Regions from separate parts of the Homo sapiens genome. Here all the other regions are linked to region 1. The links are contacts of gene promoters, found by promoter capture Hi-C in human tissues and cell types (Jung and others, 2019). All regions are on one chromosome and are shown on one strand. The core of a region is centred on a gene start or on the middle of the fragment in contact, and the rest is flanking DNA. Distances in the headings are between cores, read along the strand shown.

What was found. The method cuts DNA at HindIII sites, captures the fragments that hold promoters and counts their contacts. A contact is called where the count stands out against the background at its distance.
Region 2: a fragment that was not itself captured here is called in contact with the fragment with the promoter of SLC22A23 in region 1 in 1 of the 25 tissues and cell types used here (small bowel).
Region 3: a contact is called between the fragment with the promoter of BPHL here and the fragment with the promoter of SLC22A23 in region 1, in 1 of the 25 tissues and cell types used here (thymus).

Annotation. Positions count from the first base shown.
Region 1 is chr6:3,454,072-3,458,397 of GRCh38, forward strand. SLC22A23 (solute carrier family 22 member 23) reads right to left here and starts at 2,979. Exons shown (of 10, transcript NM_015482.2): 1 at 1,835-2,979. The coding sequence starts at 2,488. It overlaps LOC643327 (a long non-coding RNA gene), which reads left to right and starts at 1,632. Exons shown (of 2, transcript NR_147844.1): 1 at 1,632-2,180. RefSeq lists silencers at 2,747-2,976, 3,037-3,256. The HindIII fragment of the contact is 13,877 bases long and covers 1-4,326 here.
Region 2 is chr6:3,719,953-3,724,257 of GRCh38, forward strand. It overlaps PXDC1 (PX domain containing 1), which reads right to left. Exons shown (of 5, transcript NM_183373.4): 5 at 2,667-3,784. The coding sequence ends at 3,667. It overlaps LOC100507336 (a long non-coding RNA gene), which reads right to left and starts at 125. Exons shown (of 4, transcript NR_187650.1): 1 at 1-125. RefSeq lists an enhancer at 4,023-4,305. The HindIII fragment of the contact is 4,661 bases long and covers 1-3,789 here.
Region 3 is chr6:3,116,302-3,120,697 of GRCh38, forward strand. It overlaps BPHL (biphenyl hydrolase like), which reads left to right and starts at 2,410. Exons shown (of 7, transcript NM_004332.4): 1 at 2,410-2,546. The coding sequence starts at 2,440. It overlaps LOC107986556 (a long non-coding RNA gene), which reads right to left and starts at 2,346. Exons shown (of 4, transcript XR_001743928.3): 1 at 1,488-2,346. RefSeq lists an enhancer at 1,644-2,279 and a silencer at 2,318-2,707. The HindIII fragment of the contact is 13,933 bases long and covers 1-4,396 here.

The sequences.
Region 1 (4,326 bases), core at 1,729-4,228:
ATGTCCTTTCTAGGCTTTACTGTATAAGAAAATGTGTGTCTAATTATTGTTCCCAGGTTTCCCCTCTCAGTCTGGCCCAGTAACTGCAACGTGTCATCAAGCATCACCCAAAACATGCCACACACATGAGGGCTGTCTGTGACCCTCTCGAATGCTAATTTAGAAAAACTGCCCAGCTCTCCAATATGCCTCCATAGTCTGCTTTTAAGAACTATTTTTGTTCTCTCCTCCCACCGTGCATGGCTGAGTGTGAATAGCTGTTTCCTGGGTCCTCACTGCCAAGGTAATGGCACTCTATCCCATCTCATCACTTTCAAGTTCACCTCTACTTTGACCCCAGGACACAGCGCTCTTCACACATACTCACTTTGATCCATTATTCTCCCTCTGCTCTAGAAAGACACTTGAAATACTTAACAATGTTGCCAAATCCTCAGTCTGTCAGACATACACAGTGATTTAAATAGTCATTGTTCTTAATTTTTCTTTGCTGCTAAACCAACAAAGAAATATTGCCCTCCGTGAAGGGAAAACAGTCACAGAAACACCTTTAGAAAGCAGGGGGTAGGAGGTGGGTGGGATCAAGGTGAACCCAGCTAGAAGGACCTTCCCCATTACCTTGCAGGGCAGCAGGGGCAGCTCAGTCAGACAGTTCCCACAGGACAGAGCATTTCTGGCCAGGTTGGTACAAGATTAAAACAATGATTATGATGATGTAAGAGTTTATCTTACACATCCATGAGCTACAACTGTTAACCAATGCACACGGGGGGAGGAGGTTACATGCACATTGACTATTTAAAACTGTCCAATTTCATACATTTCGACAAAGCATTTAAAACTCTGCCAGAACAGCCCAGAATGGGTAGCGGGTGGGGTGGAGGAGAGTCTGTATTTACTTTAAAATGTGAATTAATTAGTTTAGACACAAGGAGCAAAACTACAAATGTCTTGATATCTCTTATATGTTAAGAATAAAATTACAGCTGTCTAGGGGCATTGAGTGTCCACCATTGCCCACTCTGTGTTTAGGCCTTCACACTTGTCTCACAACTCCCTTCTGCTACATTTCACACCACGCAATACCTCTGCAAGGGAGCTTTAGCTACAGGACTCAGAGGACAAGGTGCATGTTTCAGCTAAAGCACACCCCCGTTCTCAGTGCCTCAGCCCAAAGCAGCTGCTGTGTAAGAGCGGTGACGGCCGGGGAACACCCAAATGACATATTCTCCGCGTCCTTCCTATACTGTAGTGATGTTTACTGAAGTGCTGAGAAAACATGGGAGGAGACACTGGGGTAGCAAAGCCTAAAGTCAGATATCTTTGGGGAGGACTAAGCATCGGCTGCGGGTTGGGGATTTGCAGGAGTCTTTGCTTCTCTGGCTCTCCAGTTCTTTAGTAGGCTTTACCTGTGTCAAAATCAAGTGCGAGATGGAAGACTATTGCTTTGTGGGAGACCCAGGGACAACTAGCCGGGCAGAACAGGGCTGTGGTCCCGACTCCCCCAGCAGACCTTGAACGACGCCAGTCCGACTCCTCCAGAGGGGGCTGGTGACAGGTCAGCTGCCTCGCCCCGAGGGTGGGGGAAGGGCGCGCTTTCCATCCGCGTACTGGGACAGGAGTTTGGGTGCAAACTAGTAAAGGCTATGGTGCTCCCTTTACACCCAAGTAAAGGCATGTGGTTTGGGGGACGGAAGGAGATTAAGCCAATGCGGAATGCCCTACACACACTCTAGCACCACCACTTTGGGGACTTCGGTTCTCCCGCTGGCTCGGGCTTGGACCTCGGTCTGCAGGGAGAGGGTTGGAGGGACTGGGCGGCTGCGGCCCTTACCTTGCTGACCACGTTCTGGACGAGGCCGGCGCGGATGCCGTAGTCCCATGCGCGGCAGTCACAGTTGGAGGCGTTGTCCCCCTTGTCCGGAGGGGATGGCAGGGGTGGTGTGTCGCCTCCGTCCGCGCCGCTGCTGTTGCTCCGGTTGCCCGCAGCCTCCCAGGGGGCAGTGGCGAAGGGGGTGGTGGGGAGGCTGGTCCAGTTGCCCATGTCCCCGCCCCGGCCTGTGGTGGTGACCCCTGCCAGCTCGGTGCCTTTGCCGGCCCCGCGGCACCAGAAGTTGGGCTGGTCCAGGAGGAACGAGTCCGAGAACTGGCTGAAGCCGATGAACAGCGCCGGGATCCAGGTGAGCAGCACGAGGGTCTTCTGATAGCCCCCGCCCAGGCCCCCGAGGAAGGGCAGCACCGACCCGTCATAGTCCAGCAACAAGAGGCTCGGGGCCGCAGCCGCGGAGCAGCAGCTCGGGTGCGGGCCGCCTCCAGGATGCAGTGGGGGCAGCGGCTGGATCTCCGCGCCGCCGCCGGGGCCCGCGCGTCCCCCGAGGGGCGCCGAGGCCGCCGCGTCCCCGGGCGGCAGGGAGCCGTTCTCCTCGGCCGGGGCCGGCTGCCGCCCAGGCCCGCCGCCCGCCGCCTCGCGCCGCCGGTCTATGGCCATGGCCCGGGCCCGCGGCTCCCGCAGAGGCGCATAGAGCGCGGCGGAGGCTCCGCGGGCGCCCCGGGCACAGCGCGCCGGGCCAGGCGCCTGCAGCCGCTGCCGCCGAGGAGGGCCCGCGGCTCGAGAGAGAGCGCTCGGCGGCTCCGGGTGCGTCAGGCCGCCCCCATGTCACCCGCCGGACCCCGCGCCCCGGGCGCTGCGGCCCCGCTCGGGCGCCGGGCAGAGGCGGGCAGAGGCCGGCCGGGCCCTCAGCCGCCGCGGCTCATCAGTTCCGCGGCCCGGGCGCCGGCTGCCGAGCCCGCCGCTCTCCGCTGCTCCGCGCCGGACGCGGCAGGAGGAGGAGCCGGCGCCGCGCCCGGCCCGCGCCCTTGCCGGCGGTTCAGGGCCCTGCGGGCGGCGGTGCGGGCAAAGGCTGCTGCTCCCGGGGTGGCCGCGCTGTATTTCTCCGACTTCGGGCGCCTCCCGGAAGCCGCGAGCTCTGGACCCAGCCTGCCGAGCCGGCCGCGCTCTCCAGCTCCTGGAGCCGGCCCCACTCCTCCTCCTCCTCCTCCTCCTCCCCCTCCTCCCTGCCCCCCGGCCCGCCCCCTCTCCCCCCGCCGAGGTGGAGGTAACCGCGGCACCTGCTGCGCTCGGCTCCTGCTCGCGAGCGCCCCCTCCAGCCCGGACGCGCGGCCGCCGCCGCCCGGGATCCACGGGAGGGGGGCGGGGGAAACGGGACACCCCGGGCCCGCCTGGCTGGAGGATCCCCTGCCCGTTGCCCGTTTCGCGCCGGGCGGGGCGGGGGAGGAGGAGACGCGCGTAGCAGGGGTCGCCGGCCGGCGACGGGTCCCGGCAAAGTCGGCGTGCGCTGAGAACGTGTGGGCCGGGTCTTCTCTGAGGCTGGGCTCCCGCAGCCGCGCGGGCCCCCCACCCACTCCGCGCGCGCCAGGTCTCCGTGACCTCTGTCTCTTCAGAGGTGCCCGGCGGTCCCGCTGCCCGCGCCCCGCTCCCAGTCCCAAGCCCGAGGGTCTTCAGCCTTCGGGAACAACCCTCTGCGCTTTTTCCAGGAGCGAATAAGGTTGATTTTTGTGTCCGTGGAGCAGGGTCAAGGAGGCGCCTTTGCCAATTTCAGGTCGCCAGTCCCCCGCAGTGTCTGGCCACCTGCGACCCGCCGCACCCACTCCCAAATCGCCATTTCTTCCCCCACTCCTAAGTGCATGCGATGTAAGCACGATGCTGGGATATATCTCCAACACAAGTTATAATACACACAGTATAAACGTGATGGCATTCCCCACCCCCTCCCTAAGATCTTGTATTCACGTTTGGAACGCCGTGTGCACAGGCGCACACATCTATACTCTCACACAAGAAGACAAACCTCTCCCTCCTCTCCTGCTCCAGCGCCAACCTTGCCCAGCCAGCGCTGTATAAATAACACCAGCCCTGCGGCAAACGGCTACATTAGCATATTTCCTCCTGCACCCAGCGCACGCACCAAAGAGAATTATCCGGCACCTTTCAACCCAGCGTCCCCACATTTTGGAGGCATTTCATATTCTGAGAAGTTTATTAATGGAAGTCTTAAATGGAGCAATCCATTTCTAGTCTTATTTGGGGCAAAAAAAAAAAAAATGTTTAGCTTTCCAAAAGGATATATTCTAAGCTCCATATACTGAATGTATTCTTTTGCATTTTCATTATTTGCTCAGCTAACCGCTGCACAATTTAGTGGAATACATTTTTAACCTGCAGTTCAGTGTTAAGGGCAACATGTGTTTACTGCATAAAATGCTGGCACATACGTACCAGAGAACTATTTCTGAAGGCTGCCGGGGGGCGGGTCTTGGGGGACAGGG
Region 2 (4,305 bases), core at 209-2,708, 260 kb after region 1:
TCACGGTGAGTGGTACAGCTCATAAAAGCAATGTGGACCCAAAAAGCGAGCAGCAACAAGATTTATTGCAAAAAACGAAAAGAACAAAGCTTCCACGGTGTGGAAAACAATCCCCGCGAGTTGTCAATGCTGGCTCGGGCAGCCTGCTTTTATTCTCTTATCTGGCCCCACCCACATCCTGCTGATTGGTAGAGCCAAGTGGTCTGTTTTGTCAGGGCGCTGATTGGTGCGTTTACAATCCCTGAGCTAGATACAAAGGTTCTCCATGTCCCCATCAGATTAGTTAGACACAGAGTTTCACCACACAAGTTCTCCAAGGCCCCACCAGAGCAGCTAGATATAGAGTGTTAATTGGTGCATTCACAAACCTTGAGCTAAACACAGGGTGCTGATTGGTGTGTTTACAAACCTTGAGCTAGATACAGAGTGCTGATTGGTGTATTTACAATCCCTGAGCTAGACATAAAGGTTCTTCATGTCCCCACCAGAGCAGCTAGATACAGAGTGTTGATTGGTGCACTCACAAACCTTGAGCTAAACACAGGGTGCTGATTGGTGTATTTACAATCCCTGAGCTAGACATAAAGGTTCTCCAAGGCCCCACCAGAGCAGCTAGATACAGAGTGTCGATTGGTGCACTCACAAACCTTGAGCTAGACACAGGGTGCTGATTGGTGTGTTTACAATCCCTGAGCTAGATATAAAGACTCTCCACATCCCCACCAGACTCAGGAGCCCAGCTGGCTTCACCTAGTGGATCCCACACTGGGGCTGCAGGTGGAGCTGCTTGCCAGTCCTGCGCGTGTGCTCACATTCCTCAGCCCTTGGGTGGTCGATGGGACTGGGCGCCGTGGAGCAGGGGGTGGTGCTCGTCGGGGAGGCTCGGGCGGCACAGGAGCCCATGGAGTGGGTGGGAGGCTCAGGCATGGCGGGCTGCAGGTCCCGAGCCCTGCCCTGCGGGAAGGCTGCTAAGGCTCGGTGAGAAATCGAGCACAGCACCGATGGGCTGGTACTAGTGGGGGACCCAGTACACCCTCCGCAGCCACTAGCCCGGGTGCTAAGTCCCTCATTGCCCGGGGCCAGCAGGGCTGGCCGGCTGCTCCCAGTGCGGGGCCCGCCAAGCCCAGGCCCACCCGGAACTCCAGCTGGCCAGCAAGCGCCACACGCAGCCCTGGTTCCCGCTCGTGCCTCTCCCTCCACACCTCCCTGCAAGCTGAGGGAGTGGGCTCCAGCCTTGGCCAGCCCAGAAAGGGGCTCCCACAGTGCAGCGGCGGGCCGAAGGGCTCCTCAAGTGCCGCCAAAGTGGGAGCCCAGGCAGAGGAGGCGCCGAGAGCGAGCGAGGGCTGTGAGGACTGCCAGCACGCTGTCACCTCTCACCTGGAGGAATGTGCGGGCAAGAGTGAAAATTCACACATGAACCTCAACTGCTCTGGTATCGATTTTCTGAAATGACAGTTTAGAGGCTGACAATTCACAATTCTTTCACTTGGTCAAGTTTCTAATATATTTTTGTTTATTTTTATTTATTTATTGTCAACACCTCAAAATTGGGATATTTCACAAAGAAGAGTCAGATTTCTAGCTTTTATTGAAAAACTAGGAGATCTGGCCATACTGGGCCCATACTTGCAGGCAAAACAACCAGCTAAACTGAGCAGTGGTAGCTGCTCCCTTGATGCAGCGTCTGAGTGCTCCTGTTTGCCATAGCTGCCACCACTCCATACTGCTTCCAACAGTGATGCTGAGTGCCAGTAAGCATATATCTTTGCACCTAAAGAAACATTTATTTGTACTTATGGCTCTTTCAAGTGTGGGAATATAAAAAATGAACTTATGAGACCTATGTTTTTCCAGAAAAAAAAAAAAGGAAGCCAGAGAATGCTCTGATGTGCTTAATAGGACAACAGATGTCCAAACATCTCACCCCTACTGGCAAGACCTCATTGCGCACGGACTAGTAACAGTAAAACTTCTTCAGTGAAGGCTGAGCAGGGGATGAGGTTGGGGAGCCAAATTTGAGTCTTGACAGAGGAACACAGCCTGAGCAAGGAGGTGGCCAAGGAAGCTGCATCACAGTGACCGAATGGCTGGGGAGAAGCACCTCTGTGAAACGGATGAGACGAATCCGTGAATCAATCCTTGAAAGTCAGATGGGCATTAATTGAACATGCTGATCACTTCTAATCTTAGCTACTAAGCAGGAAGCCTCATCCTTGCACAGAACTGAATTTGATGTGTCAAGAAAAGAAAGGCAACCGGTCAACCCCGGAGTGAGCCACCTACTAGCCTATTTGAAATTGAGATGCTTTAAACAACACAGCTGGAAGGCAGAGGGAAATGCAAAACCAAAGGAAAGTCCATGTGCTTTGCAGCTGGGTCATCAAAGAGAATTCCTGTGGCTGCCAAAAAGAAAAATGGAGGAAAAGAAAAAAGCCTAAGTCAACCCCCGTCTCCCTCCAAAATAAAACAAGCAGTGTGTCCATTTTTCAATCTGGGCAGACCACTTCCCTAGGGTAAGAACATAACACACTTTGTCACTCACGGAATGTGACAGGAAGAGGGGGAGGGACCAGGCCCCAGGAGTCAGTTTTAGTTTCCACCCTGTCCCAAGGCAGGGGACAGAAAGAACCACGCCTTTATACACAAACATCCTGGACAGATCAAAGTAGAGTCATAGATTTTATTTAATTAAAATAGATTAAAAACAGACTGTGTAAAAGAATTAGAATTCTCAATAATTTACTATTATTTACATTAGCAAATGTCGGTCGTTAGTAGACACTGAGCAGAGAAGCTTGAAGAACGGGGATCCTCTCCTGTGGGCAGGGGAGCCCCAGCTTCCCTCGTGATTCCCGTCCTTTCAAGTTCATTATGGCAGCTCTGTCAATGAGCACCCCAGGGTGGTGTGGCCGCAGCACCAGGACCCGCGCTGAAGGCCCAGAGACCTGGCAGGCCGGGAAGAAATTCCTTTCCTTTGGGAAGAACCACCAACGCTCAGTCCAAGCTCACACGGTTATCTAGTCGGCAATGCCTTCCCTGCCCTGCAGCCAATACCCCCCACTGTGCTGGGCCTTCTGCAAATACTCCTGGGGTTGACCCAAACCCAGTTTCCAGATAAAAGATAAAAAGAAAAAAAAAAAGGCCACATATCCCAGTTCTCAGAGAAATCCTGGATTACTAAACATCCCCTGCCTGTGGCACCTGGAATGGGTGACTTGTCAAAATCTCCCTCAAGACGTTTTGTGCGTTTGCCGTGGGAGGGAATGGTGGGGAGTCAGGGTGGCTGGGGGGCACTAGGCCACTTCACCAAGAGGGATGCACCTCCCAGGAAGCAGTAGCAGTGAGAGCGAGCCCCACAGGAACTGTCCCTGCCCTGGCAGTGCGCAGCCCTGTGGGCACCAAGCAGGGAGTGAAGACCCTCAGAACACAGGCCCTGTGGCCTCCGGCTGTGACCTCAGCTTGCTGGAGACTCTGCGGTCAGCCTGGCCCACTAGGAGCCCCTGCTGCTCCACTTGCAGGACACCCAGGCCTCCTGGCGTCAGTGGGGCCTGGGACGTCTGGGAGTTCCAGAGCTGGGGCAGCAGCTGTGACCATGGGGGCCAGCACAGTGGACAGCATCAGAGCTGGCAGTGAACAGCTGAGGCGGGGGAGGCCTGATAGAGAGGTTCAGTCCCAAATGTCTGTCTCGAAGGGGACCAGGTGGTAATATGACAGGTTGGTGACGTAGGCTGCTGGGTCGTCCCCGTCCTCCAGCTCTGAGGGAAACTCACTGCCATTCTCAAATCTGAAATTAGAGAAACCAGAGGTGAGGGGTGGCTCATTGTTGGGATCAACACCAAACACCCGCCGGGACCATGAGCATGACTTTCAATGCCCGCTAGTAAGTGTGCAAAAAAACCACGGCTACAAATGAACTGGTGAGCTGGCTCCTGCTCTGAGACTGCCAGAGCTTCTGGTTTCCACTGCCTTGGAGACTGCTGTCTGCATTTGCTTAGACAACCCTTAGCGAGGCCTTCATCCATTCCTTCATTCATGGAGTGCTGATTTTCACCTCTTGTTCTGTGCCCAGCACCGCGTCAGGCTGTGGGATCAGCAGTGAACAAGGCAGGCAGGGTCTGTCCTCAGGGAAGAGGCGCCTGCCTCGTGCTGGGCCCTGGGGACAGCTGAGAGAGGAGTGGTCACGAGCTCACAGCCTGACCGCAGCAGAGATGACACACGGACGCACAGGAGGCTGCGAGGGAACAGGAGGCTGGAGAAGAGCCGGCGAGGCCCGTGGAGGTCACGGGGGGAGACACCTTCTAGCGG
Region 3 (4,396 bases), core at 1,160-3,659, 340 kb before region 1:
TCATTATGCAAGTATAGAGTCCTGAAATTGAGCAGCTCAAAATTACTTTTCAGCTGTGTTACCTAGGGCTTGCTTCCTAACCTTTCTTAGCCTCAGTTGCCTCATCTATAAATGGAGAGTGCAATAGCACAGAAGGCTAATGTGAAGATTAAAGAAATATGATATATCATAAGGTGCCTGGCACAAAAATGGCAGTTTTTTTAAACTGTACGATCTTGCTATATATAAAGAACTGGTTGTCAGGTATGTTACTTAAAAATAGTGACACCACGCTGGACGCGGTGGCACACACCTGTAATCCTAGCACTTTAGGAGGCTGAGGCGGGTGGATCACCTGAGGTCAGGAGTTTGAGACCAGCCTGGCCAACATGGCAAAACCTCGTCTCTACTAAAATTACAAAAATTAGCCGGGCATGGTGGCGGGTGCTTGTAATCTCAGCTACTCAGGAGGCTGAGGCAGGAGAATTGCTTGAACCTGCGAGGCAGAGGTTACAGTGAGCTGAGATTGCGCCATTGCACTCCAGCCTGGGCAACAAGACCAAAACTCCGTCTCAAAAAAAAAAAATTGTGACACCAATAACCTAAAACTCAGTGCTACCGTTTTTTATTAGCACAAGGGTAACTGGTGTTGAAACTGTACAGACAGCTATTTTTATCATTTCTGAGATGAAACCCCAATCAACATATCAGGAAAAAAGGAAATACTGACCTCACCAAAGATTTCTGAAAGTCAAACGATATTAAACTCAAACATTATATATGTCTCTTTCCTTTTATGCAGGAATTAATGTGATAGATTTATGTTGAGAGTAGAATATGAAAACTTTTGCATAGTCTGTATTTAGGCCAAAACTGCCTTTACTACTCAAGAAAGTCCAATGGGCCAGTGAGGACACTGCAGGTGACAGAAATTTCTATGAGTGTAACACCTACAAGCACTGTGCTCACAGGACTGACTGTTACACCAAAAAGGTCTCTTGGAGGAGAAGAAATGCAATATGCAAAGAAGCTGTTGTCTCCAATTATTCAAGCCAAGGCTACAACAGTAGCCACAAATCTGCCAGTTATTTCCAATTAAGGCAGAACGATTGACTTAAAAAGCAATAGTTGTTTTTTTTCTCCACTGAGCTTTCAATTAGATAATGTCTATAACCTTTATAAAGCTGCAATTATACAGCCAAAAGAAAAAAAATTAATTGTGGTAAAACATACATAAAACTTACCACTTAAACCACTTTTAGGTGTGTAGTTCAGTGGCAGTAAGTACACTCACAATGTAATGCAGGCATCACCAAAATCCATCCCCAGGACTTTTTCATCTCTCCAAACTGAAACTCTGTCCCCATGAAACACCAACTTTCCATTCCCCCTTCCACCAGCCCTCAACAACCCCCATTCTATTTTCTGTCCCTATAAGTTTGACTCCTCTAGGTACCTTATTATATAAGTGGAATCACACAGTATTTGTCTTTTTTTGACTGGCTTACCTCCCTCAGCATAGTGTCCTCCAGGTTCATCCATGTAGTAGCAAGTGTCAGAATTTCGTTCTTTGTTCAGGCTAAAAAATGTTCCCTTGCATGCACAGACAACATTTTGCTTATCCATGTATCTGTTTTTGGACACTTAAATTGCCTCCACCCTTTTGGCTATTGTGAATAGTGCCGCTGTCAACGTGAGTGTAAAAACATTTCTTCTTGTACACCCTGTTTTAAATTCTTTTGGGTTATATACCCAGAAAAGAAAATGCTGGATCATATAACTGATTTGTTGAGGAACCGCAGTATTGTTCATCACATGGCTGCACCATTTTACATTCCCAACAGCAATATACAAGGGCTTCAATTTCTCTACATCTTCACCAACACTAATTTCTGGGGGTTTTGCTAGTAGCCATCCTAATGGGCGTGAAGTGGTATAAACAAAATTTAGATCCCATCATCTCCGAAAAGCAAATACACTTCCTAGTACTAGTCAGTACTAAATAGGTGCACAGCGTTTAGAACTTTACTTGATCCAACATAGCAGCCTGCCTAGAGCCGGAGCCCCGCCCACTCCGGAGTCCCGCCTGGACGCCGACGCAGCGAGGGCGCTATGGCTGGCGGCCTCGCCTCCTGGAAAGGCCATGGTCGCTGAGGCGACGAGCGAGGGCGGGGCAGCGCCGACGGGGACACTCATCCCGGGAGCCAGAGCCAGCACCGAGAGGGGACGGTCTACGCGGGTGCCGGCGGTTCCAGGACTGCGAAACCACGAGCCGAGTTTCGGTCGCCCATGGGAAAGCACCCGGCAGGGCGTGGCTTCGGGGCGGGGCGGGCAGAGGGCGGAGCAGGATGGAGAGGCGAGGTGGGCGGAGCAGAGGGCGTGGCTTCGGGGCAGAGTGGGCCGGGTACCGCGCTTGGTCTTAGCGCATGCGCACTCCCGGCAGCTACGCGACCTGTGACCATGGTGGCTGTGCTGGGCGGCCGGGGCGTGTTGCGCCTGCGGCTGCTTCTCTCAGCGCTGAAGCCCGGGATCCACGTCCCACGGGCCGGACCCGCGGCCGCGTTCGGGTAATGGCGGCCACCTCGCCCCGGGGATCCCCAGCATCGGCGCGCTCGAGGGGCGGCGGGAGGGGCGCGTGCCGACAGCAGGAGTTCCCGGCGCGCGGGCACGGGGCGTGGGCGCGGCCTGGCTGCCCTGTCGCCCTTTGTGCCGCGAGACCCCGATCCTGGGGGCCAGCCGCGCTTGGTGCTCGAGCCCCTCGATCGTGCATGCGCCTCGGTCAGCCTCAGTTCAAGGAGTCTGGAGCCGTGGAGGCTTGGGCTATAGAGTGCAGCCCCTTCAGTGTGCAGACCAGAGAGACCCAGGGAGATACATTTGCCTGTAGTATGGACTCACCCGTGACGGAGCACGGACTAGAATCCCAACGCCCTCATTAGTCCATTGCTCTGTCCAGAGTCCACACTAAGGGCATAAGGACAATAATCTCTTCTTTCTCTTATGTCAGAAATCAGCCTGAGCCTGAGTACCGCTAAGGCTTTAATCACGGGTCCCGAGAGCCCTAAGTCTTCTCTTTGCTTGCTGATCTCGTACCTTAATGTGCAAAAGAATCACGTTGGGAACTGAAAATTCAGAATCCTGGGCCTCACTCCCAGAGGATCTGATCTACATGTGTGGAGATGCCCAGGAATCTGCTTTATTCTCTTTTGTCCTCCCACCTGTCCCCCCATTTCAGGTAAAACAATAACAAAAAAACTGGATTAATTTCTGACCTTCTGTCTTGAAAATGGATACTCTTGGTCCCAAGAGATACTGGGCAGAAATGTGGATAGAGCGGCATGAAGCTTGTTTTACTTTATTCTCTACATACATCCCTACACACATGCAAACACACGTATACAACGAACGTACACAGTGCATGTGCGCAGTTGACTGTTGATGGGCTACTTTCATAAAGTCAGTACTAGATAGGTACACAGCGTTTAGAACTGTACTTGATCCAACATAGAAACTTTTAGTTTGAAAACTTGATTTAGAAGGAGAAAAGAGGGCAAATCTGACCAGCTTTTAAAATTTCATATTGCAATTGACTAGCTCCTTTAATTTTAGAATTATTATAAGATGGTCAGGGCTATTTTGATAGATGGAAAAACATGTTAATGGCTACAGCTGTATAAATTAACAGTGAAAATGATTATTTTTTCCAGTTTCCTGTCTGCAGAAAGGCATCGAAATAAGTTACTGTGATTGTACCAATATAGTTCTTTTTTTTTTTGAGACTGACTCTCGCTCTTTTGCCCATGCTGGAGTGCAGTGTTGTGATCTCGCTCACTGCAACCTCTGCCTCCCAGGTTTAAGCGATTCTCGTGGCCTCAGCCTCCCGAGTAGCTGGGATTACAGGTACCTGCCACCATGCCCGGCTAATTTTTGTGTTTTTAGTAGAGATGGGGTTTCACCATGTTGGCCAAGCTGATCTCGAACTCTTGACCTCAAATGATCCACCTGCCTCAGCCTCCCAAAGTGCTGGGATTACAGGCGTGAGCCACCGCTCTCGGCCTACCAGTATAGTTCTGATAGGTTATTTAATGGTTGAGGAAGGCCCCATCCATCTAGTTGCATTGCAGATCATTCTTCCTAAAATATCTCTGAAGAAACAGGTTTTTCTGGATTTTGTACGGCCGTTTTATAAATGCAGCTGCAAGTTGATATGACATATAATCTGGGAAAACAAGCAGTGGTATTAGTTAATCCTGAAATGCAGCTGTAGCTCAGTGTCAGTAGGTAAAAGGATTCGTGTAAAAACTTTGCTTCAGAATAGCCAGTGCCCAACCTACAACTGACTTTTGTTCCAAAAACTTGTTTGTAAGTCTGCTGTTTGGAACTTTGACCCTTATTTCAAAATCCGTAAGGTGATTTATTC